Regions from separate parts of the Homo sapiens genome. Here region 1 is linked to region 2. Evidence: promoter capture Hi-C in human tissues and cell types (Jung and others, 2019). All regions are on one chromosome and are shown on one strand. Each heading gives the region's core, a stretch centred on a gene start or on the middle of the fragment in contact. The rest is flanking DNA. Distances are from core to core; before and after follow the strand shown. Region 1 overlaps DGKB (diacylglycerol kinase beta). Region 2 holds the start of ETV1 (ETS variant transcription factor 1).

Region 1 (5,389 bases), core at 2,487-4,986, 690 kb after region 2:
GCTTCTGTGACCCATTCTATACATTTTATAATTCTCAGAAATGTTTATATTAAAAATGTACTTTAGGTTTTACACCAAAGAACCCTGATTTCTTTGACAAACACAAATTATTGTCCATTACAGTTCTTCCTTTGCTTATCTGTTAGCATAATCTTGAAACCACTGTGCCTGTGTATGCTTTTTTTTTTTTTTTTTGACCCTCCTGTTTTCTCAAAGTCATTCCAAAGTGCACAGCTCAGTATGGGGCATAATTGATCCCATCATTAGTTTTAACTTTGTAATTCAATATGTAAATGTAACCAGAGATTCATCTCAGTAGGAGCAGGATATAAATAAAAGAAGATGATTATGATTATAAAAATTTATCTGTATATTGTATTTATCAGCTCAACGTTAAGTTAGTATATAATCATACAATGTCCTATTTATTTTTTAATATGTATGAGCCCAAACTAATATTTTTATTAACCTGGTCATAAGTTTACATTAAGGTGTTACAACGTGGTGTTTTAAATAGTGATGTTTTAAAACTGAGATGGTAGTTTTTTAAAGAATTACACAGATTTGGTAAAATAATACTTGCTTGAGGGCATCTAGAGATTTCTCCCTCCTGCACTATGCATTAATTTGATATGAACTCTTCATACTTTAGAAAAAAATATACATTTCAATAAGATAACATGTTATGTTCAAAACAAAAAAGAGCCACATTATTTTTCCATTTTGAATCAAAAGCTACCTCATTTAAGCCTTGGCTGCATTAATTTCCACAACATACATACCTTTGTGAGCAGTTAATTATCAACTAAGCATAGGAGTCTAATGAGAGTTGATTTATTTTTAGTAATAGAACAGTATCAAAGAGGTATTTCTGCGGTCCTAGAATCTAACACTGCTGTCATGCTAACTCCCTGCATTGGAGTTAAGATGACTTGTACTGTAATTAATGCCCATTAGGTTACATTACATGAAATAAACGTATCTTTCCATGTTCATCCATAATTAGCAGCTCTGCTTCTCAGGGGCATATAAACTTCTCTATAAAAAAGTGATTTAATTGTATTAGGCACTACTGGTCTTTGTCAAGAGGCAAGAAGTGTTGAAGATAGAGAAGCAGCTGAATGCACAATAGAACTAAATAAACTGATACTCAGAGCAAATTAAAAGGTATAGTTTCCTCAAAATAAAATTAGTGACTTGTTTAAAATGTATTATTAATTTATTGGACCTAGTAATTAACTTTCTTAGAATCTGCCATGGCCATGGATGTTTGGATTTAGAGTTAACAGATTAGCAAGTGTTGGGATGGATCAATTTCTCCCAAAAGATATGCTGAAGTCCTAACTTCTGGGACCTTTGAATGTGAACTTAATTGGAAATACGGTCTTTCTAGATGTATTTAAGCTAAGATGTTGGTTTAGCTGGACCCTAATCCAATGACTGGTGTCCTTATAAGAAGAGGGGAATCTGGACAGAGAGACAACGGCACAGAGAGGAGAAGTCCCTCTGATAACATAGGTCGATATCTGAGTGATGCACTACAAGACAAAGAATTCCAGGGATTGCTGGCAACCACCAGAAGCTAGGAAGAAGCAGAAAAGGATTCTTCCAGAAAGCCTTCAGAGGGAGGATGACCTGCTGACATTTGGAATTCTAGCCTCCAGAGCTATGAGTGAATACATTCTTGTTGTTTTAGGCACCTATTATATGACATTTTGTTACAGCAGCCCTAGGAAACTAATAAACCCAGTACTATGAAAACGGCACTAAAACCAAAGAGAGATTATGGGTCTTAAGACTCTGCTGCACTATGGATGTCACAGAGAAAGAGCTTTGGCTCTTTAATCTTGGGCAACTTCCTTAAAACTGAGAAAACAGACGCTAAGAACCCTCTACAAAAAACAGATCTGAGATAAAAACCTATTTGTGTTTACAGCAAGAAAGTGTTGAAATATTATTCTTGATTACAGTGTAAAGCTAAACACGTGACTCTGAAGGCCACAGGGGCAGGACATACTGAGTCTTATGCCAACGCTGACTACAGATGCAGTCAGAGGCCTCAGCCTCCTCCACACCTCCATCCATGTGTTTCCAACAATTTGCAACTGACATGGTAAAGGACGACTAAGCTCTCTGTATAGTTATTTGAGGGTTACTGATGTAAGAAAGGATGACAAAAATAAAATTAATTTGATGATAGTTTGGGGGCATTTAGGCTAGTTTCCCAGAAGGAAGGAAAGAATCGAAGACTCAGATAGAATCATGCAATAGATGAGCTTACCAGAGTGTGTGTGAAGGGGCAACTCTGTATATTGGGATTTGGGAGTTTCAGAGCATAGGTACTGACAGTTGATTCCATGAAATTCTGGTCTTTGCAGAGCCAAATAAATCTAGTATGGGATTTCCCAGTTTGATTGCCGCTGTGGTCCTGAGTTTTGTCTAGGCGGTCGTAAGGCACTCCCCAAGACATAGGAGGATCTATAAGTTTAGTAACCATACTATCATCTGTTAAACAGAGTCACACAATGCAAGAAAATTCTCCTAACCAAGAAGTCTATATTTGATAATATGCAGGAATACCTTATGCTTGTATTAAGACTAGAATCTGGCAGCTAATAAATACATTTTCTTAACCATCAACATTATGACGTTGTTTGTAGCCAAGAGTGTTAAAACTGAGGGCATCATGTTAGGAGTACGGATCATTTTACAAGTCGTGAATCAAATTTGTATGACAGGTTTAGTTTATGCATCATATTTCTTGGAGATATACTTGAGGAAAAAATATACAATGTGAAAGCCAATGTGAAAAATGTGTATCATTTTCAGGACCACCTATAAAGTGTAAAAGTGAATATCATCTTTGCTGTGAACTTAAAATTGCTCTAAATCATAAAGTCTATTTTAAAAAGCAAAAATCAACAAAATTATACAATAGAATTCAAAAGCTACAAATTTTTTTTCTTTAAGATACTGGTAATATTTTGTTTCCTGATCAGGTACTGCTTACAGAACATTCATGTGGGGAAAATTCATTGGGCTCTGCCCTTTGGATATAAATGCCTTTCTGTATGTACACTTTCCTTCAATGAAAAGCTTTTTATAGTTTGAAAGAATGAATAAGACCTACTATGTGATAGCACAACAGGGTGACTACAGTCAGTAATAATTTAATTGTACATTTTAAAACAACTAAAAGAAGGTAATTGGATTGTTTGCAACTCAAAGGATAAATGCTTGAAAGGATGGATACCCCATTCTCCATGATGTGCTTATTTCACATTGCATGCCTGTATCAAAACATCTCATGTGCCTCATAAATGTATATACCTACTAAGTACCCACAAAATTAAAAATAAAAAAATTAAATAAGTGAATATCATCAACAATAGAAAGTTGCTTAAACTTATCATCATATTTCGTGGACAAGAATATAAGAAAAAGACACAGCTGGGTCCTTCTCAGTGTAAATAAGATGCTGAAGGCTGACTATTGTTTTAAAGATAACCTATATCCCAAATCAGCAAAATCCTAAACACCAGGGTCCTCATCAAGAATAGAAATGAACTACAGCATTGAAGATGCTGCCTCTTTAGTAAAATAACCAATAGCGCACCAGAGAAAATCAAATGTTTACTATTTAAAATTTAAAAAAACATTTTTGTTCAGTTATCTTTGTATTTTTTTCAAGCCAAGGCATAGAAATCCTTAGCTCATTTTTAAATATACATCCAGAAATTCCCATTCATGTTAAGGGATTCAGTGCCATATGTAGGAAAATCATATAATAGAAACCAGCTTTTCCTGGAAGTGAATTAAACACTTGGAAATAATTTCAGAGTTTATGACAACTTCCAGTAGCACCTAATTTAGAGCCAGATCTATGTTTATTAGAAAAAGCTGTCTCAAGATAGAAAGAAAAAGAAAGTGTGTGGATGTCTGTGTGCATGTGTGCCAGCATATAGTTCTATGGATGGAGTTAGGAAGAGTGGCTGCGCTGGTCAGAGAAGAAAATGGGATCTGAGAAGTCAAAAGGAGGAAAAATGGAAAATAAGTGTTCATAGGAATTTAGAGGAAAATAAGAAGAGAAATAAGCTACTTTTCTAAAGAAAAATTTGAAGACCTGATTTGGAGGCACATATTTACTGGTTCACCTGTTACACTGGCCCCTAATATTTTGCAGTTTGGGGTACTTCCTAAGACTGGCATTTACTGAAGCAGAAATGTTTCCATGGCATTGGAAACCTTTAAACATTACTGTTAGGAATTTAGTATCTTAATAAACAATATTATCTCTATATCATAGCAAAAGTTAGTAATTCATTTTTATGAAATAGGTGTTATTTTTTCAAGCCTAAATAAAATCCCTCAACTTCCCATCCTGGTGAGTCCTGCCTGACCAGTGAGAGCTTACCTTGACAAGCAATGATTCACAACATGTTATACAACGAAGGTCAAGAAAACACAGTTTCAGAAGAAATGAACAGGTATAAGCAGTGGGATATTAAGGATGTTAGTAATCAAGACAGAAAAGAGAACTGAGGTGAATATTTTGCCTGTCACAGAGGATTGAAATATAAAACACAGAGACTGGTTGCCTAATTATCAGAAGGCAGTTTTCCACTGATCTTTCCTAAGCTTTTCGTATTTTTAATTTTGAAGTGGCTAGATTTACAAATGAACAGAAAATTTCATTCTAAGAGCCTAACTTTATATCTACAAGATAGCCAACTAGTAAATCAAGAAACTGCAAGTATGAACTGAAAAATGGGTGTGAAAATTGATTCTTAAGTATTTGTTTAAGTTTACTTGCATATCTGATGGAGATTTGAGTATTACAGGATGATATTATAAAACAAAACTTAAATAGTACATATGTTTGAAATTTAATATTCTACTGTAAGAATAGCATATCAGAGATTAAAGTGATCTTACTGAAGACTTTTCTACACTCAGTACTTTGTCAAGAACTTCAGGTGATTAGGAAAAAATGTGTGACATGGACAAGCAACAGGAGCGGGCCACAGTTAACAGTGCAAACGATGTTAGACTATGGTGTGAAACCAATGGAGAGCATTTGAGTTTTTCCTTTGGATGTGGAATGTAAGTACAGAAACTATTCAGAATCAAGATATATTAGCGTCAAGAAAAATTTCAAGGAAGACAGGTAACCTAACTTGTTTCCTAAGGTATGATTAGAATTTAAGACAGGTGCATTCAAGGGACCGGGATGAACAAAATAGTAGGCATGAGGGAAACATGGCCTCCCCAAGGGACTGCCAACAGAAATACACAGCTATGGCAGAGGGTGTGTGTAGAAGAGGAATATTATATACAGTTATGTTTAGGTTTGATTCTGATTTCTAAAGAACTAAAAACCAACTTGATG
Region 2 (5,258 bases), core at 1,988-4,487:
CTCCTGGTAATTTGTGATGACACTGGGTAGTACAGCCCCAGAGTCCCCAAAGACAAACTCATCAGAGGCTCTAATGTATGCATGACACATGAGGTGGCTCTTTTAGAGCTCAATTAATTGGGCTGAATATTAAGACAGCAAGTTCAGGACTTCTTTTCTTTCTCCTTCTAGAGTTGCTTTCCCCCCTTTTAAAGCAAATTTTGCCTTACCTTCTGCAAGCCATGTTTCCTGTAATTGACTTAGATCTTGAAAGAGTTCTAAAAAACAAGTCAAAGACATAAACATAAGATTTGCAAATCTTTAATCTTCATTAAATGGAAATATTTGTCATGAAATTGGTATTAAATATAAATTTAATTTCAAGAGACGCAGTCAACATAAAAATAAAAAAAAGAGGCATAACTTAAATATCTCAATAATACTGCCTACTTTTCATGCCTATTAAGCAACTCTTTAAGAAATTATTTTAGTCAACTAAAGAATAAAGTCAATCATCTTTTCTTCTTTTTAACAAACAGCTTAATAAATAAGCTCAGGGATACCAGAATTCACAAAAAGGCTGAGGTGAATATGTGTCTGTTCACTGAAATCTTCCTTAAATATATTTAACTCTTGCTAAAATAGTAGTAGGGGGAAGATTAGAAAGACTGAAAAGCATTTTATTTATATCTTCTGAATCTTACATAAAATATATAATGGTACATGGTACAACTGTCAAAGTATTATGTTTTCAACTTCAATACCTCGAAACTAAAAGAAACCACTTCAAATACAAGTTTTTAGAGGAAAATTTCTACATTAATAGGTTTATAAAAGTCAGAAAGATAATTCTTTGGCACCAGGTTCTCATCAAGTTCTAAACTATATGGTCATGTTAGGGAGGGAGAGAGGGAGGTATTTAAATGGTATGAAGATTTGAGGAAGTTTCAGAATTCAGTATATCTAATTAAAATTGCCAACTAAACTTTGATAATTAAATCTAAGTATATTAAGTTTATTATGAATGTCCTCATATGGCTAAAATAATTTGTAACATACTGACATCCTAGCAACAGTTCATAAAAAGAATCTGCAAACTAATTTCCCAAATAGTATTATAATTATTAAGGAGGCCTTAAGTATGATTCAGTGAACACATTATGGTCGATAAACAAGGTATTATGACCTCACAATTTAGTCATCAAAATCACCCTTGAAAATTCTGTTAATAGTAGATGGTTTTAGTGTAAAGGAGGTGGGAAACCAAACAATCACTAATACTGTTTAACTTGTAATAAAGGAGAAAGAAAAAAGTAAGCAGTGTACATAGCTGCTGAATTTGTCCCACTGTATTGGATATTTTTAAATTGTTATCTTAGTGAATGGGGTGAGTTATATGCCCCATGGACAAAGGTATTTAAACACAAAACAATGATTAAAAGAAGGTTGTCATTGAGAAGTTTTTATTTCCTTCTTTCATTACTTTGTGATAGGACCATAAAATAGTCTCCCATGCAAACTGCCGCATTATGTAAATCGTTCCAAGTTAAAGTCTTAGTTAGATTCAGTAATTTCAAAGTTTATTATTTTTAAGATAAGACTGAAGTGCTCCTTTTCTTTTAGCAGGGTGGAGAGTGTAGGTAAAAAAATGGGGATTCAGCCCAAAATCAAACCTCACCTTCTGAATCATGAGCCAGATCTCTGTTAATGAATTTTCTTTTCCTGACATTTGTTGGTTTCTCGTTACAATTTCTCCCACGCTGACTCTACAAAGGGAAAGATAAAATCCTTTAAAAGAATGTAAACCTCAGATCACACACACGCACACGCGCGCGCACACACACACACACAGACATGCATACATAAGTCTAATGGATCTTCTCTGAATAGAAAAATAGAAGTCCATAGTATCAACTCTAATATTCATTTTCTCACTTATTTGACAGTGAAAGCTTATGTTAAGCAGGCAGGGAGAGTTGCTTCCCAGTGCCGATCTTAGCACATTACTATTTATCAATCATATATTCATGGTATCTCAGCATCAAAACAACCTGAAGCATTTACACTTAAAGTTGTTTTTAGGCTGGTTCAATGCTAGATTAAAACAGTGGGTTTTATTCTCTCTTGGACAGCCCCTCCTCCCCACCCCACCCCCACAAAAAAAAAAAGCAAAAAGAGTAGAGAAATGAAAAAAAAAAAAAAGAGAAAATGAGAAAAAAAAAAGAAACAAAAACACCCCATATAAACAAAAAGTGTCAGCATTTGTCTCAACTTCATTCTTTTCAATGTGGCAGACAAACCCAGCCAAAAACTTTGAGTGCAGCAGCTGCTGCTGCCCTCCATCTCCTCTTCCACTCATGTTGGGCACTTTAATCAGAAAAAGGGGTCTTAAAAACAAAACTATGCCTTATCCAAATCACTGAAAGGTAAGCTCATTTTGAAGACTGGGCTTCTAGAAGCAGAGTCGCCCTACAGTGGCAACAAAGCAGATAAGTATCTGCAATCCCAACCCCCGTGCCCCCTCCCTTCTCATTTTCTCCCTCTCCCCACCCCCGACGGAGTCAAGTTTATAAACAGCAACTTTCAAACTGATCACTCACATTGGTGACCATGTAAGGCACTTGCTGGTCATAAAATCCATCCATGCTGCTGCTCTTCGCAAATCTCAGCTCAGTATTTTATATTTTGAGCATTTAGCTGGAGATTTCCTCAGGATCTGGACTTCTATCAACCTAGAGGGGAACAAGATGGCTTTTAGGCTTAAAAAAAAATCATGAATGAAGCTCTTGAATTTGCATAGCTAATTACCCTCCGACAGTCCCATTCACAAAAATAACCCTCCCTACACCGCCTCCTTCACCTGGATCCAAAGAGAGCCAACAGAGTTCACAATTTACATATTTTCGGTAGTAGCAAAAATCCGAACAAGAGGCGATGTATTTATTTACACTCTCGATGTTTCCCTGCGCGGTCGGTGTACCCCGGGCAGCTCTGATTCGCAAACGTGTGCAAAACTAGCAATGGCGATCAACGAGACTTGCTTTGCACCTAACGGGACTAAAGAGACGGAGACACCTCTTTCATCAGGATAGTTTTTGCGACCCACAACCATGCAATTATCTGGAGAGACATAAAAAGTTGTTGGAAAGACCCACCTGAAGGCCACGCTAGGCGAAAGGCTGCAAAAACTTCCCTCCAAATTTAATAAAAACATTAATTATAGCCCAGCACTTCCCCCTTGGAAGCCGAAAGCGCCTCTGACAGAGCTCAATTCGGTGGTTTTTCCTCTACTTCTCCTCCAGGGGCCTCCAATCCAAACTGATGGATCGCTGCCTCCCATTGGCTCCGCGTCTCTTTCACAAGATCAGATTTCGGGCTGTCAATCAGGCGGCTTGCTGCCCCTTCCCGCGGGTCTCCCTCGCCCCTCTGCCCTAGGGGGTGCTCGGCCGGTAGGCGCTGGGTCCTCAGCCTGGAAGCGCCACGGAGAGACTCGATTTCCTCTGTAACCCGCTGCTTATTGTTAAGGCGCCTGGGGATACTGAAACCGTGTGTTTCGAGTCGCCAGTTCCCATTATTGGGGTGTTAGGTCCACTATTGGGCTGGTTTCCTTAAAGTACTGTTGTGCGGTTCTGGTATACCCTTAGAGCCGCGATCCACAAAGCCCGTACCGCCTTATTCAGCTGCCCTCCCCTCAGGATCTCCAACCTCTCTACTCTTGCCCTGACTAGGAGCTCACCTCGCTCTCTATCCTCATTCCCACTCAGCTTTTGGCCCAATTTATTTTCCCGTTTTTCAAAACCCACCATCACCATTATGGTTTATCGAAACATTTTTTAAACAGTCATCCTCAACTAAAATTAGATCCTATCGTTCGTGGGACAGAAACATAAAGAATCTATAAGGAAGGCACCTAGGAGATGCAGAATTGCTGATTAGCAGAGGTTGTGATGGGAGGACAACAGAGCAAGCTAGGTGAAAAAGTATAAGTCAAAATGGTCCCTACGTGTGCACTGGGAAAAGGTACTTCCAGTCCACTGTGGCTGTGGGGAGGAGGAGGGAGTGCTTGGGGTTGCTCGTATATCCTAGAACCCGCACGTTTCCTGAGCTTTTGTTATGTATACACGGAGGCGGAGGGTGTCACTTACTGTACTTGACGCTTTCACTTCCTCTCCAGCTTTTAAACAGCCAGAGCCCAGGGTTGGGGGCGAGCGGTGAGATGGCTCGGGTTTCAAGGACAATAACTAGGACGTTAAGCAGTGAGGGCTGCATCTCTGAAGCCACTTGCCCTGATCCTCCTATGGGACTCAGAACAGTAAAGCGTCACTTTAAGGAGCCAGTGTCCAACAGCGGACGGGAGGCCGCGGGGATAGGACCAGGGACTCAATGCTGTTGAAATTCATTTGTGACCAGAACTAGTGACCAAAAGACGTTTCCGGCAGCTGTTCCGCCCGTTAGGAAACGTGCTGCAGTTCTCAATTTCTATTTGAAAGTTTCCTTCCTTAAATAGAACGTTATGGAGACACATTAAAATGGAGTGTAAGAGCGCACAGCACTCAACCCCGGACCTGGGCAGGAGAAAGATCTACTTAAAAAAGAAGCAAACAAACAAACAATCAACACTTATTACTGGGAAAACAACCAATAACTATGGACAGCAAAGACAGACCCCGCGCATTCCCGGAAACTACTAAATCGGAGTTCACAACGCGCGCACCTATAAGCATTTTGAGCGGGAACTGCATTTTAACCCCGGCCAAGGAGAGATTCCAGGAAGCGCCTGGGCCCCGAGGCTGAACAGTGAAGCTCATGGGTACTATCTGAGGGTGCAACCAAGCAGGGGGTCAATAACAAGGGTCCTCCACCACCCTGCACTCCTGGAATAACCCAGCGCCTGTAATCTGAGCAACAGTTTCCAAAGACCTTCTCTGCAGCCCGAGCCTGACGGGTATCCAGGGTAACCGCGAGGGGGCGGAGCTTCGGGTTAGGTCCCGGCGAGGTTCTTCCCGCAGCCAATAACGAGCCGTAAATCCCCAGCCCATTGTTGTTTATTGCTGACCCCTCAGCGCTCCGCTAGGAGATTGGCCGCTTTAGGGAAGGGGGCGGAGTCCCGCCCGCCCCAACAGCCACCTTTCGTCTCCATTCACAAAATTCCGGCCCTTCTTGGTCACGTGGTTGGGGGCGTGGAGGGGTAGAGGAAATGACACAACAAAGGCCCAAGTATCCCAAACCACAAAACTTTTTTCAGCTCGCTGCCTCCTCTTTGTCCTGTCCCTGAAACA

What was found. The method cuts DNA at HindIII sites, captures the fragments that hold promoters and counts their contacts. A contact is called where the count stands out against the background at its distance.
Region 1: a fragment that was not itself captured here is called in contact with the fragment with the promoter of ETV1 in region 2 in 3 of the 25 tissues and cell types used here (dorsolateral prefrontal cortex, lymphoblastoid cells and mesenchymal stem cells).

The regions. Positions count from the first base shown.
Region 1 is chr7:14,673,223-14,678,611 of GRCh38, forward strand. The region is part of intron 12 of DGKB (diacylglycerol kinase beta); the gene reads right to left. Among named protein-coding and RNA genes, the nearest start is that of DGKB, 230 kb to the right of the region's middle. The HindIII fragment of the contact is 4,743 bases long and covers 1,366-5,389 here.
Region 2 is chr7:13,986,429-13,991,686 of GRCh38, forward strand. ETV1 (ETS variant transcription factor 1) reads right to left here and starts at 3,238. Exons shown (of 14, transcript NM_004956.5): 1 at 3,135-3,238; 2 at 2,840-3,036; 3 at 2,580-2,711; 4 at 1,658-1,745; 5 at 210-257. The coding sequence starts at 2,624. RefSeq lists an enhancer at 4,758-5,258. The HindIII fragment of the contact is 5,948 bases long and covers 672-5,258 here.